Linked DNA regions of Homo sapiens: all the other regions are linked to region 5. Evidence: promoter capture Hi-C in 16 types of primary human blood cells and fetal thymus (Javierre and others, 2016). All regions are on one chromosome and are shown on one strand. Each heading gives the region's core, a stretch centred on a gene start or on the middle of the fragment in contact. The rest is flanking DNA. Distances are from core to core; before and after follow the strand shown. Region 1 overlaps RPP30 (ribonuclease P/MRP subunit p30). Region 2 has its middle 5.5 kb from the start of ANKRD1. Region 3 has its middle 15 kb from the start of ANKRD1. Region 4 has its middle 3.2 kb from the start of XLOC_008559. Region 5 holds the start of PCGF5 (polycomb group ring finger 5).

What was found. The method cuts DNA at HindIII sites, captures the fragments that hold promoters and counts their contacts. A CHiCAGO score of 5 or more calls a contact.
Region 1: a contact is called between a fragment that was not itself captured here and the fragment with the promoter of PCGF5 in region 5, in 6 of 17 cell types (fetal thymus, M1 macrophages, M2 macrophages and 3 more). The highest score is 12.0, in fetal thymus.
Region 2: a contact is called between a fragment that was not itself captured here and the fragment with the promoter of PCGF5 in region 5, in 1 of 17 cell types (fetal thymus). The highest score is 5.9, in fetal thymus.
Region 3: a fragment that was not itself captured here is called in contact with the fragment with the promoter of PCGF5 in region 5 in 1 of 17 cell types (fetal thymus); the score reaches 5.9 in fetal thymus.
Region 4: a contact is called between a fragment that was not itself captured here and the fragment with the promoter of PCGF5 in region 5, in 1 of 17 cell types (fetal thymus). The highest score is 5.1, in fetal thymus.

What each region holds. Positions count from the first base shown.
Region 1 is chr10:90,884,197-90,886,896 of GRCh38, reverse strand. It overlaps RPP30 (ribonuclease P/MRP subunit p30), which reads right to left. Exons shown (of 11, transcript NM_006413.5): 6 at 996-1,085. Among named protein-coding and RNA genes, the nearest start is that of RPP30, 14 kb to the right of the region's middle. The HindIII fragment of the contact is 1,166 bases long and covers 827-1,992 here.
Region 2 is chr10:90,925,201-90,927,900 of GRCh38, reverse strand. No RefSeq gene overlaps it. Among named protein-coding and RNA genes, the nearest start is that of ANKRD1, 5.5 kb to the right of the region's middle. RefSeq lists an enhancer at 1,725-2,611. The HindIII fragment of the contact is 1,120 bases long and covers 831-1,950 here.
Region 3 is chr10:90,904,712-90,907,411 of GRCh38, reverse strand. It overlaps a transcript of RPP30 not described here. Among named protein-coding and RNA genes, the nearest start is that of ANKRD1, 15 kb to the left of the region's middle. The HindIII fragment of the contact is 5,535 bases long and covers 1-2,700 here.
Region 4 is chr10:90,942,751-90,945,450 of GRCh38, reverse strand. No RefSeq gene overlaps it. Among named protein-coding and RNA genes, the nearest start is that of XLOC_008559, 3.2 kb to the left of the region's middle. The HindIII fragment of the contact is 4,169 bases long and covers 1-2,700 here.
Region 5 is chr10:91,219,381-91,222,080 of GRCh38, reverse strand. It overlaps PCGF5 (polycomb group ring finger 5), which reads right to left and starts at 1,418. Exons shown (of 10, transcript NM_032373.5): 1 at 1,245-1,418. RefSeq lists silencers at 795-1,089, 779-1,238, 1,309-1,618 and an enhancer at 1,809-1,878. The HindIII fragment of the contact is 12,523 bases long and covers 1-2,700 here.

The sequences.
Region 1 (2,700 bases), core at 160-2,659, 340 kb after region 5:
AATTCTCAAGCCAATTCCTTAGCACCAAAGAGAATTAAAATTGAGAAAGTTATGATTCTACAGAGGCAAAAGAGCAAGGGAATTATCCTTTGAAAAACTTAAAAAAAATTAATCTTCTGATTCTGACAGGATTGGATATGTAATTTTGACTGTATTTGCTAAACTCTTTTTTTTCTCCTTGGATACCAGTTTTTGAGAACAGGAGACTAGGGTTTTGGAAGCCACTACTCTAAAATAGCATCTGAACTCCTCCTAGGATCTGACTGGCAAAGCAAATAGTTAACAGCTGTGCTGACCTTTTGCTACTAAAATAGTTACTGGTGTGAAATAATATTACCTTATGATGGAAATGGGAGGAAATTAAGACAGAAGAAGGAATGGACAGATAGAAGATGAAGGGTATGGGAAAACAAGAGAAAACTATGTAGAAGGGGAATGAGAAAAATTCTATAGCAGAGGGAGAAACAAAAAAGTTTTCTGAACACATGGCCATCCTATTAGGTTCATATAAAAGTAACTCTGGGCTCTTTGTGAATAAGCATGCTTCAACACAGATTTTAATTTTGCATAGACCACGTCTATGTGATGCCATGCCCTGTTCCCTCTTGACTCTCTTTAGCTTCCTGGTGCCTCAAGGATCCTCTGCTTTTTATTTTTTCCCTTCCTCTTCTTTTTTGACTGCTCTGTTCCCTTAATAATTGATGTTCAGGTTATAAGTACCCATGATTATTAGCTATCCTCTTAAGAAATATCCTTTATAAATTTTGGGTTCTATGGCCTTTTAAAAACATCTTAATAATTAACTGGATATTTTTAATTTTAAGCTTTCTTTCTCCCTTTGTTCAGCTTTCAAAACGAAAATTCTCTTTTCTAAAACTGCCTCCTATTCCCTAGCCTTTGTTTTTCCTTCTAAGAACACTGATTTCTTCTGCTTCTTTTCCAATTTGCTAATGTAAGTTTCTAAGATTCAAATACAGAATGGAAAGTACACTTACCACATTAATAGGAGGTCTTTTGAAGTAAAATGGTAGTTTCTCTGTTACAGTTATGCAGACTAAATCCACATCTAAATGTGTGCAAGCAATCTGTAAAGAAGAAAAAAATAGGTAAGGCCAAAAGGAAAATTGGCACAAGTAAGAATGGGAGATAGGGTCAAACTCGATATAAAGTATGGTTCACTCCATAGGTGTTTTGATGGTTCTGTGTTGAAATACATCTGACCTTTTACAAAGTCAACTGTTTTGCTACTCTTTTAGGTTTGGTTTAAATGGTTTAACTGTAATCCAGCAAAAGCGGAATATGTCCACAGACTTTCTCAAAAGATAGGGCCTGGAGACTCTCTAACTCATATGGTCTTCTACATAAGGATGGGTTGCAGAGCGAGGCTCAGTTTCTGGAAGGTTACTTCAGACTGTCCCAGAAAGAAGAAACTGACTATTCTAAAACCCAAGGAAAAAATAAGCCAAATGGAATGTATGCATAGTCCATTTATCCCACACACTATTTATTGAGCAACTCTGTGCCAAGAATTGTCCCAGGGCTGTGGCTCCTATCAAGTCTACTGAGTAGCTAAAGAAATATGAACACAGCACCTCATGACATTTGTTCAAATACTAATAGAAGGAATCTACATAAATAGTTAAAGCAGAGCTACTACAAAGCAAATGATAATGAATGCATTTTCTCAACTTTTAATTTCCCTTTCTGTTGTTTTAATTTTTGCTATGACTTGTTGAGTAATACTCTGCATTTTCTTCTCAAAGAGATTTGAAACTGTTTATGAAAACCACATACAAGATAAAATAAACAGATAAGAAAATCAGGATAAATGGAAAATCAGGGAAGAAAAATAAAGCTGGGAAAAGGTTACTAGTGTAGAGGGCAAGCCAGAAGACACTGCTGGAAGAAACATACCTGGCTCTGATTTTGCCATTATTTGATTTATAGTGATAAAAATATTTGGCTGTTATGTATTACATTAAAAACAAAGCTTACTGACAATGCTAGTGTGTACAGGCTTGACAGACAAATTCAAACTTCCAGGATGGCTACGCTGACAAACAACATCAGTGGCATGTACCAGGGGAAAGGGCAGAGTAAGGAAGAGTGGAGAAAATGACCTATAGGATTGGTGCCAACCTTCGGCAATGACAGGAATACCGTATCTTGCCCTTTTTCTTCAGAATCCCCACTTCAGTCACTCCTACTCCAACCCCAGGGCTTTAGGAAGTAGAGATCAGAGGCTGGCTAGCTTTAAGACAGTCATAGTAACTTAGTAAGCCTGGGAAGCAATGTTGTTTTGGCAGAAATACTTGGCTCATAAAGAATCTGCCCCATCCCAACTGCCACAGCTGTCCAACTCATAAAAGAGTCACTGAAAATTTAATAAGAGTGGATGAAGAAAAGCTCTGAATGATAGCTGAAACAAATTCAGCTCTGTTCACCATTTTTTATCGATCATACTGGCAAAGATAAAAAAGTTTGGTACTACCTTGCTGACATGAGAATGAATGAACAGGCACTCAAAAGGTCTTTAAATCAGTATAAGGTCTTGAAAAGCATTTTAGCAATGGCTACCAAAATTTTAAATGCACACACCAACAATTCTACTTATAGGTATGTAGTAGGTATAAGTGGAGTCTCCTATAGAGAAGTCTCTATAAGTGCAGAGACTCTAAAAATATATTACGTAGCTATATA
Region 2 (2,700 bases), core at 141-2,640, 290 kb after region 5:
GGTACTTCTTCTTGAAGTCAGAAATTGCATTTTAAAAATAATTTTCCTCTGCTTTAATAAATGGCTAAAAAGGTTAATGGATTTTCTATCTATGTTTGCAGTCACAGAAGCACTTATCTCTCATTCCAAGTAGATGTTCTATGTAATTGGGTGTGAAGTAATTCCAAAGTTGCATCAAAATCTTTTCAGAGCGTTACTATGACAATCAAACTTCCTTTTAAAAAATCATCTCAACGCAAACTCTCCATCATCCCACCGTCCATTGAGTGAAATTTAATCTCATGAAGTAAATTTGGCTTTTGAGAAAGTTGAGGGGTGGGAGGGGAACCATTATGCATTCACATTTTAACTGATTCTCCCACTCACACCCATTCTTCTTGAGGTTGTAATAGACAGGCCAGTTGTCCTTATCACAATCCCAGAATGTTGATTGTTAGAGGCTCTGCCTTCCTAATGTTCTGGGAACCAGTGTAGGGGGCCTAAACAAGAACCCATTATTTGGGGAAATAAGAATGTAATAGAAAGTCACTGAGATCCCTTCCTGGACACTTATCACTACCTTTTCTATGGGGACAGATGTCAGCCTAGGCAAGAGCTTGGGCAGGGATTCTCAGAAGGGGAAGAAAGAGGATGAGGCCTTATAAAAATCTCTGCGGTCTTAGAAGGTTTGAAGAGGCATAATCAAAATTACCACTACTTTTATTTCATCTTGACCCCAAGTTGATCTTCTTGAAATTTCTATCCATGTAACAGAGAGTGTGAAATTTTTATGTTTATCAAGTGGGAGAATGTCTTAAAGATAGTGGAAATATCCTGGGCTAGTGAAAGCTTTATGGACCGTTTCCTCTTTTAGAGGCATTGGAGAATCAACTTCACTGTCCGCACGTGATGCTGCAGTTATGAATGTTTATTTCTACCTTTTGATTCAGTGACTTTGAGACCTCAGTAAAACTTTAGGGCCCTAGAAATCATTTTGTTCTCAGCTCTCCTTTTATAACTTCAGGATTTGAGATGGTAAGAGGTGAGAGGACTTGCTCCAGTGAACACAGGGCAAAGCCAGGATTTAGAGGTAAGCCTCCTGATTCTTCATCCCATCCCCACCAGACCCACAAAACTACTGTCTCGCCTCACTCTTCTTGATTTGTGGCAGAAGAAGCATGTTATATTGTCTGTAGTTTTTGTTAAATACTTCAGTAAAACTGTGTGAATGCCGTGAGGGCAGAGTCGTGTGTCTCTTGAGAGCATAAGTATATCTCAGCTCTAGAAAAATGCCTGACACAAAGTAGAGCTAAATAAATATTAAATGAGTAGGCCAGGCACAGTGGCTCATGCCTGTGATCCCAGCACTTTGGGAGGTCAAGGCGGGAGGATCACTTGAGGCCAGGAGTTCAAGACCAGCCTGGCCAACATGGCAAAACCACATCTCTACCAAAAATACAAAAATTAGCTGGGCATGGTGGCATGCACCTGTAGTCCCAGCTGCTCAGGAGGCTGAGGCAAGAGAATTGCTTGAACCCGTGAGACAGAGGTTGCAGTGAGCCAAGATCGTGCCACCGTACTCCAGCCTGGACAACAGAGCAAGCCTCTGTCTCAAAACAATAAAATAAAATAAAATAAAATAAAATAAAATAAAATAAAATAAAAAATAAATGAGTAAATTGTATGTGTGTGTTTCCCATGGTCTTAGCATAGGCAAGAGTCTTCAACAATCAAAATTCTGAGACCAGAATAACAATAGCTTGACTGTCCACTACAACTTGGAGAAAATACACGTGTATTTAGATACATATTCATTTAATTCTACACCCTCGAGCAGTATTCTCAATGCTGGGAGGAAATTAGAATCAACTGGAAAACTTTAAAAAATACCAATTCCTTGGATCTTTGAGCAGAGATTTGGATTTCATGTGCCTGAGCTGAAGCCTGGGCATCAGCATTTTTTTAGAAGCTTCACAGAGGATTCTAAGATGCACCCAGCTTAGAGAATCACTGCTTGAAGAAATGTTAGTTCACACCTGAGAAGCCCTGACTCTGCGATTACAACTGTTGGGGTTAGTTAGCATTTGAAAGACACTAATGAGCTGCCCCCACTCCAGTGGAGGTAATCCCAAGTACTTTACCTATCTTTACCTTTGATAGTATTGACAGATTAATGGTTAATTAGCATGAGAAATGTTACCAATTATTTCTCATTGAAAGGAGAATTTGAAATATGTGGTTTGGTTAGAAAAGAATATGAGCCCTGCTGGGTCTCAGGTAAATATTTATTTAGCCCCACTATGTGTCAGGCACTTTTCTATGCAGTTGGAGTCCTAGGCTTATAGTGAGTGCTAGGACTCCATCCTATCTTGTGTTAGGCCATATGTGGAGGAGTCTGTAATCACCTTGAGTGGACTAGAAAATTAGCTGAAATATGCTGCCAGAATGTGGTTGTGGTTTCATTTGCTTCAAGTGAAACTTTTTCTTTTATTTTTTTTTAAATAAAAAAACATAGAGCCAGGATCTCGCTATGTTGTCTAGGCTGGTCTCGAACTCCTAGGGTCAAGTGATCCTCCTGCCTTGGCCTCGCAAAGTGCTGAGGTTACAGGCATGAGCCACCATGCCTAGTCAAGCGAATCTTTTGTGCTGGACACTGTCCAAGGGCCTAAATGGACAAAGGGCTGGGCTTCATGAGTTTACTGAATAGTGCATGTGGCCCTT
Region 3 (2,700 bases), core at 87-2,586, 310 kb after region 5:
CAGGGAGTCCACCTCCCACAGGCATTGGGGATTTCATTGTTATCTCTCTGACTCCCAATCTTGTTTGTTGGCCCCTCTACCTTCCCCACAGGGGTCCTGGCTTAAGTTTGTCAGACTTTTAAGGCTCAGGGTCCTTCAATTTCTTCCAAGTGAAACATCTACAACACAGACATTTCTCTTGCCAGTGCTGATGTCTCATGTGGCATAACTTCAACGTGTTACCACCATGTGACCAACTTTTCTTTATGGTATCTGCCTCAAATCCACCTCCCCTAAAGAGCTGGGAGGGTACACGAGAGAAGAGAATAAAGAGTTAAAAAGTTTTATGTTGCCACATATAAATATTTGCACTAATAACTAGGTAGAGGGCATGAGAGACAATATGGAATAAATCCCATTAGAATTAAGACAACTCTTAGTTATTTCTGCTAATGGAAAAGATAAACACGTTGGGGGAAATTTTTAAGTTTTTAATCACATAGTCAATTTTTTTATAAGGTTCTCTCCTTGCCTTCTCACTGACTCAACTCTTTGCCCACAATCTTTCATTTTGTGTTTGCTCTTCAGTGAAGGGCACACCACACTGGCCAATGGAGAGTCCTAGAAGTTGTTTTTGACCTTCTTTCCCTCATCCTTCTCTTTTAAACAACCAGGTCTTACCAAGTATACTACATAAGTAGTGCTGTGATCTGTCCATGTTTTCCAATCCTAGGTGCCTCTGCCCTAGTTCAGGTCACCATTACTTCTCATCTGGATCAAATAGCCCTCCTAGGCTCCTGGCCTCCAGGCTTGCTTACCTCCAGAATGTTTTTCAAGTTGCAGATAGAGGGATTTTTCTAAAATGCAATGCTGATCAACTCACTCTCCTCTTTCAACCCTTCGATGGCTTCACATTTCTCTCAGGATGAAATAAAAACTCCTAAAAATGTCTTATAAAATCCTTAAAATCTGGCTGCTGTTAACTCTTTATTCTTATCTCTCATAACCTTCCTAGCCAAACTCTAAATTTCAACTCAACTAAATTTTCAGTTCCTTAAAAAATCCAGGCACTTGCTTTACTGTTTTCACATACTGTGCCAGCTCCCTGGAAGACTCTTCTTCCCACTACAGCCCACTCCACGCCATCACATCACTTCTCATTCCTCCCCTTTGTTCTAGCTGTATTTCCTCCAGGAAGCCATCCTTGAGTCCTTAGATTCTATTAGTTCCCCCAAGGTGTCTTCCTGTTGTACTTTGCTTTTTCCCCATAACATCTGTCATACTTCCTTCCCCCTCCTCTTGAACACCCAATACTCATTATGCCAATACAGAAATGAGTAACAAAGGAAGCAACACATCACCAATAATCCTGGTTTCATGACATTCTGATTATTTCTGTGCACATTATGGGTATTGTGTATTTAGCTTTACAACTTCAACTGAACAACTTATTCTAGACATCTTTATAGACAGTATTCTTTTAATGTACAATGAATTATTTAATCCTGTTATTATTGGGTATTTAGGTTGTTTCCATTTTCACATTTAAGACATTGTTGCAGTGAATATCCTTATCCATCCACCCTTTATAATTAACCAGTTATTTCTGAAGAATAAATTGACATCAAAAGTATAAGACTTGCATCAAATTGTATCTCCCTCCACACCATCTTGAAAATACCCACTTTATAAATCTTTTTTTCTTTTAACTTTCAACCTGATCAGCCAGATATATTTGTGGTGATTTCCCCCTAAATGACTAGGAAAGTTCAGCATCTTCATGTTACTGGACATTTAAAAAAATCAACTTTATTTGTCCAATTTTCTAAGTCAGGTCTCCTGGAAGCAGCATTTCAAATTAGGATTCTTGTGTAAGTGACTTACTGAGAGTCCTCTATAAGGGAATGAGAAAAAACAGAACAGGGCAGAAGAGGCAAATATGTGGTTTCAGGAGAAATCCACACACAGCGTAATCCCATGGGGTGCTCAGGAGCATAAATTGTACCACCGAGGCCAGTGGGCCAGGCTGTAATGTCCTGCATCAGTCACTGGCCATGGGCCAACCTCAGAGGAGACAAAACTTCCCAGGTATCTTCAGGTAAAGTGACTCTCATCAGCCCAGGACAATCCTCTGGAAAAGGGTGAAGATAAGTCATTAGTACCCAACATCTGAAGCACTGGCAATATAGGTACACCACCCTGGGAATGGGGATCTCTATGGATGCTAACAGCATGTCATGTTGGGTATTTAAAAAAAAAAAATTCTTAAAAGCTAAGCATATGAAACCTTCCTGGAATATGTATTGTAAATGTACTTTCCTACTTGTTGTTATGTAGAGACAAATCAATCAAACTTTGTTTTCTGGCTTTGATGACCATGCTCGGCAGGTCTATTGCAATCCAAGATTATTATTTTTTTAATTAACTTACATTTTCCTCTAGTATTTTACAAGTTTGTTAAAAAATTTAAATCTTTAATCTACCTGGATTTACTATGGGTGTGTATTGGGTGTGAGATAGAGATTTGACTTAGTTTTTTCCTAAATGATAGCTGACACTTCAATATTTAAATTAATATAATGAAGTAATAAATAATAAAATAGTTGGTACTTTCTTTTTTTTAGACAGAGTCTCATTCTGTCGCCCAGACTGGAATGCAGTGGTGCGATCTCAGCTCAGTGCAACCTCTACCTCCCGGGTTCAAGCAATTTTCCTGCCTCA
Region 4 (2,700 bases), core at 181-2,680, 280 kb after region 5:
ATTTGGAAACAGACATGCACACAGGGAGAACACCATGTGACCCCAAAGGTAGAGTTCGGGGTGATGCATCTGCAAGCCGAGGAATGCCAAAGATTGCCAGATTCTTAGTTTGCTAGGACTGCTGTAACAAAGTATAGCTGTCCCTCGGTATTCTGAGGGGATTTGTTCTAGGACCTTCCTCAGATACCAAAATTCGTGGATGCACAAGTCTGTTATAGAAATGGTTCAGTGTTTGCATATAATTTACATATATCCTCCTGTATACTTTAAATCATCTCTAGATTATTTATCATACCTAGTACAATGTAAATGCCATGTAAATAGTAGTTACACTATATCGTTTAGGGAATAATGACCAAAAAAAGTCTATACATGTTCAGTACAGACACAACCATCACTTTTTGTCTGAATATTTTTGATCTGTGGTTGGTTAAGCCCCCAGATATGGAGGGCTGACTATGCCACAGCCTGGGTACTTAAATAACAGAAATTTACTTTCTCACAGCTCTGGAAGCTAGATGTCTGAGATCAAGGTGTCAGTGGGGCTTGTTCCTTCTGAGGGCTGTAGGAGAAAGATCTGTTTCAGGTCTCTCTATTTGTTTTGTGGATGGCTTGTTTTCTTCTTGTGTCTTTACATCATCATTCCTCTGTATGAGTCTGTATCCAGATTTATTTTTCTTATAAGGACACAATTCATACTGGATTAGAGTTCACCGTAATGACCTCATTTTAACTTGATTAATTCTGTAAAGATCTTCTTTCCAAATGAAGTCTTCTTCTGAGGTTCTGAGGGTTAGAACTTCAAAAAATGAATTTTGTAGAGATCCATAACAGCTAGGAAACTACCAGGAACTAGGAGAAAGGCATAGAACGATTCTTCCTTACTGCCCTCAAAAAGAACCAATCCTGCTAATGTCTTGATCTTAGACTTCTAGCCTCCCGGCTGTAAGAAAACAAATTTCTATTGTGTAAATACCCTGTTTGTGGTACTTTGTTACGGTGACCTTAGAAAATTATATTGTAAACATAAGCAAAAACGCAATTTTTCAAGAGCTGAAACTCTAACTGGAAATCAACTAAAGGTTTTACCACATTGACAATTTGAAGTTTATCGCCCAGATGCCACTATTCAAATCTGTTAACACATAAAACTATTCCAAAAGTCAATTTGAGAGATTTTACACGTGTTAGTTACAAATATTAAGAATCTTCACATTTCATACTTTTCCAAAATAGAAATTCAGACCATAATATTCTTGATTTTAATTGACATTCTTACACAAACATGAAAACATAAGTGGAAGCTGACAGTCAAAGACCAAAATGTTTAGGGATTAAAAAGGGGCTGTTGAACTTAAATGTAATATCCAAAACTGTAAAAACCCTAGAAGAAAATCTAGGCAATACCATTCAGGACATAGGCATGGGCAAAGATTTCATGATGAAAATGTCAGAAGCAATTGCAACGCAAGCAAAAATTGACAAATGGGATCTAATTAAACTAAAGAACTTCTGCACAGCAAAATAAAGTATCATCAGAGTGAACAGACAACATACAGAATGGAAGAAAAATTTTGTAATCTATCCATCTAACAAAAGTCTAATATCCAGAGTCTACAAAGAGCTTAAGCAAATTTACCAGAAAAAACTCCATTAAAAAGTGGGCAAAGGACATGAACAGACACATATCAAAAGAAGACATGCATGCAGCCAAAAAATAGGAAAGAAAGCTCAACATCACTGATCATTAGAGAAATGCAAATCAAAACCACAATGAGATACCATCTCATGCCAATCAGAATGGCTATTATTAAAAGGTCAAGAAACAACAGATGCTGATGAGGCTGCAGAGGAAAAGGAACGCTTTTACACTGTTTGGTGGGAATGTAAATTAGTTCAACCATTGTGGAAGACAGTGTGGCGATTCCTTAAAGATCTATAAGCAGAAATACCATTTGACTCAGCCATCCCATTACTGGGTATATACTCAAAGGAATATAAACCATTCTATTATAAAGATACATGCACACATATGTTCATTGCAGTACTATTCATAAGAGCAAAGACACAGAATCAGCCCAAATGCCCATCAATAATAGACTGGATAAAGAAAATGTGGTACTCATAAATCATGGAATACTAAGCAGCCATAAAAAGGAATGAGATCATGTCCTTTGCACGGACATGGATAAAGCTGGAGGCCATTATTCTCAGCAAACTAACACAGGAAAAGAAAACCAAACACCACATGTTCTCACTTATAAGTGGGAGCTGAACGATGAGAACACATGCACACAAGGAGGGGAACACCACACACTGGGGCCTGTCAGAGGTGGTGGGAGAGAGAGCATCAGGAAGAATAGCTAATGGATGTTGGGCTTAATGTCTAAGTGATGGGGTGATCAGTGCAGCAAACCACCAAGGCACACATTTAGCTATGTAACAAACCGATTTATCCTGCACATGTAACCTGGAATTTAAAATAAAAGTTGAATTAAAAAAAAAGGGGGTGGGGGGAAGAGGAGGCTTTCGGTAACACCAATCTAACTTTATTTAATAGCTGAAAAAAAAAACGGTGTTTAAAAGATTTACGGCCAGTCGCGGTGGCTCACACCTGTAGTCCCAGCACTTTGGGAGGCCAAGGCAGGCAGATCACAAGGTCAAGAAATCGAGACCATCATGGCCAACACGGTGAAACCC
Region 5 (2,700 bases), core at 169-2,668:
CTACAGGTTAACCTTAATATACCCTTCAACAACTTTCTTCAACCTGAAGGGATCACTCCTCTCCCACCGTCTCCTCTGCAGGTTCTAAGCACTCTATCCAACACGCCCTTTCTCTCCTCTGTCTGCATGCCACCTATCCTTCAAGCCCTTCTCCAATGCTATTCTCAGTGCAATCTTTCCCTAGTTTTTAATGCTTACTTCTTTCCTATTACATTTGCCTTTTATTTTGATTTATAGTTACGTTCATTCTTTACCTTCTTTGTTAGACCAAAAACTCTTCAATAGAAACTGGTCATATTTAGTAGATATATAACCTGGATAATGCTACTTTCCTGTCTCAGGTTTTTTTTTTTTTTTAACTGTAAAATATGTATCCTCTCAGAAAACACAACATGAAAGGTGTTGATTTTCCTAAGTGCATTCTATAAACAGGAACTTTCCCCCATCTTAGCTGTTAACTCATTGGTAAATATAAAGCAACCGGAAAGGTAAAAGGCATTCCATCAACACATACCCACTGCGAATGTGCAGGGAATAGGCTCTACGTGTAATCATCCTATCCTCTTGGGAAACCGTATTCGTGCGTGTAACAGAAAGCAAGCATAATTAAAAGACAGGGAATCAGGGTTCTGGCCCTTACCCCTGTATGACCTTCAGCAAACCGTTTCATATCTGAGCCTGGGTCTCGGCTTCCTCCTCTATAAGTTGGGATTAACTGCCTTGCCTTTCCCACAGGTTTGCCATGAAACTCCAAAGTAAGAGAAAGTCCTCTGGAAGAGGAAATGCACGGTCCCGACCTGGGGTGGTACTAAGATCCTAAGGCACAGAGCCCTGTGACCAAGACAGTTAAGGGAAGCAAGAACTTGCAATGACGGGGCGGGGGCAAGGGGGAACTTTTCTGCGTTCTCCGGCAGGACCCAGCGGTACAGCCCTGTGGGGTCCCAGCACAGCCGCGCCCGCCCGGCAGGTGCGCGGGCCCAGGCCCCGCGGGCGCGCTGCTCAGGCCGGGGAGAGCGAGCAGCCTTTCCCGGGGCCGGCGTCCGCAGCCGGCCGCTCTCCCCGCCGAGGTAGGCACAGCTCCGAAGCCCCCGCCCGGGTCGGTAGCCCCCTGCACCCGAAGGGCCCTCCCGGCTCCAGGCTGGGCCGGCCAGGGCAGGTGTCTGGAGGTGTCGCTCTCGCCTGAGGCGCAAACTTGGGTGAGGAGTCTGGCGTCCCTGCAGCTCCCCAGCCCGCCCGGTACCTACCCAGCGGCCGCCACCGCCGCCGCTCCTCGCCCGCCAGCGCGCCGGCCTCAGAGTGAAGGAAAGTGAAACAGAAACAGCACCCGCCGCGGCCTGGCCGGTCCCCGCGCCCCGTCTGCTCTCCCCCTGCAGGCGGGAGCGCGCCGGCTCTGTGGGGCCACTCGGCTCAGGCCCGACAGGGCGCGGCGGGCCTCGGGGCCCAGGTCCGGTGCCGCCTCCAAGGGCAACTCCACCCACTTCCAACCGGCGGCACCGCCCGCCCCGCCGCCCGGCCACGCCCCCGCCGCCCGGCCACGCCCACCACCACGCCCGGAGGCCGCGCCTGCCGCCTGCGCTGCTCGCAGGTGCAGCTGCCGCCCTGGCTCCCTGTGCTACACGTAGCTCTGGCCAAATATTATCTCGGTTCTTCTTATCCTCACCGTCCACCCCTTCGGTTGTTTACATCATAACAATGACTGGCATATTTTCCCTGGAGGGTTTAAAAGCAACGGTCAGTGATGAGACTGACGCACCCTGAGAATTTGTCTCTTCAGCTGCGTCTTCCCCAAGTCTGTCCCACCTGCGCCGAAGTGGGGACAAAGCCATCCCTTGATTTGCACCTTATCTGAAAATGACTGACAAACTTGTTACTGTAGTGTGGGTCCAGAGATCATGGTCGTTGACAACTATAAGCAAACGGGAACGTTGTGGAGGTTGAGGGTGGGGGGAGGGTGAGTGGTAAAGAAGCATTACTGTTTGCAACGTTCAAAACAAACAAAAACCCAGTACTCTTTCTAGTGGACTTTGAGATCTACAAGAGACCATTCACTGCAAAAACCTTCATTCAAAAATGTGTATTCTAGAAGCCAGAGCAGTGATGGCTTAAGAAAATGACAATAATAGAGGGTAGGGGAGACTGTCAATGCAAAATATTTGCTTTTTCTCCAACTGATAGGCGTTAACTTCTTACTAAAGTGATAGATGACTCTAAGTGGCAAACCAACAAACTTAACAACCGCTAGTCCAGCAGCCATACAAGTGTTCAAAGATCCATTTCAAATTTAAAATGCATCAAGCAGTAGACCAAGGCAGCTTTTTAAACTATCCATTTTATAATCAAACTTTGACATGTTTAAAAATTGCCATTTCTAATATCACAGCAGGAGCAATACATTTTCTGAAACAGCTTTAAATGACCACATTCGTATAGTCCTTTAAAGAACCATTTTCCAAAATCATACATGCCAATGTCCAAGCTGGGATCAACTTCATAAGTCGCAGCAATCACAATGAGTAAGAGAAAACAAGTGAGGTCAAATGACTTCATGGCAGTAGGATTACTCTTTATGCTTCATATCTTTCATTTCAGAGACTAAACAGAACAGTATGTGAAAAATCACACTACTTCTAGTGTGTTTAAAATATGCATTGGAGGATATTACTGTATATATACCACAATATATAAAAAAGACTTGGTATG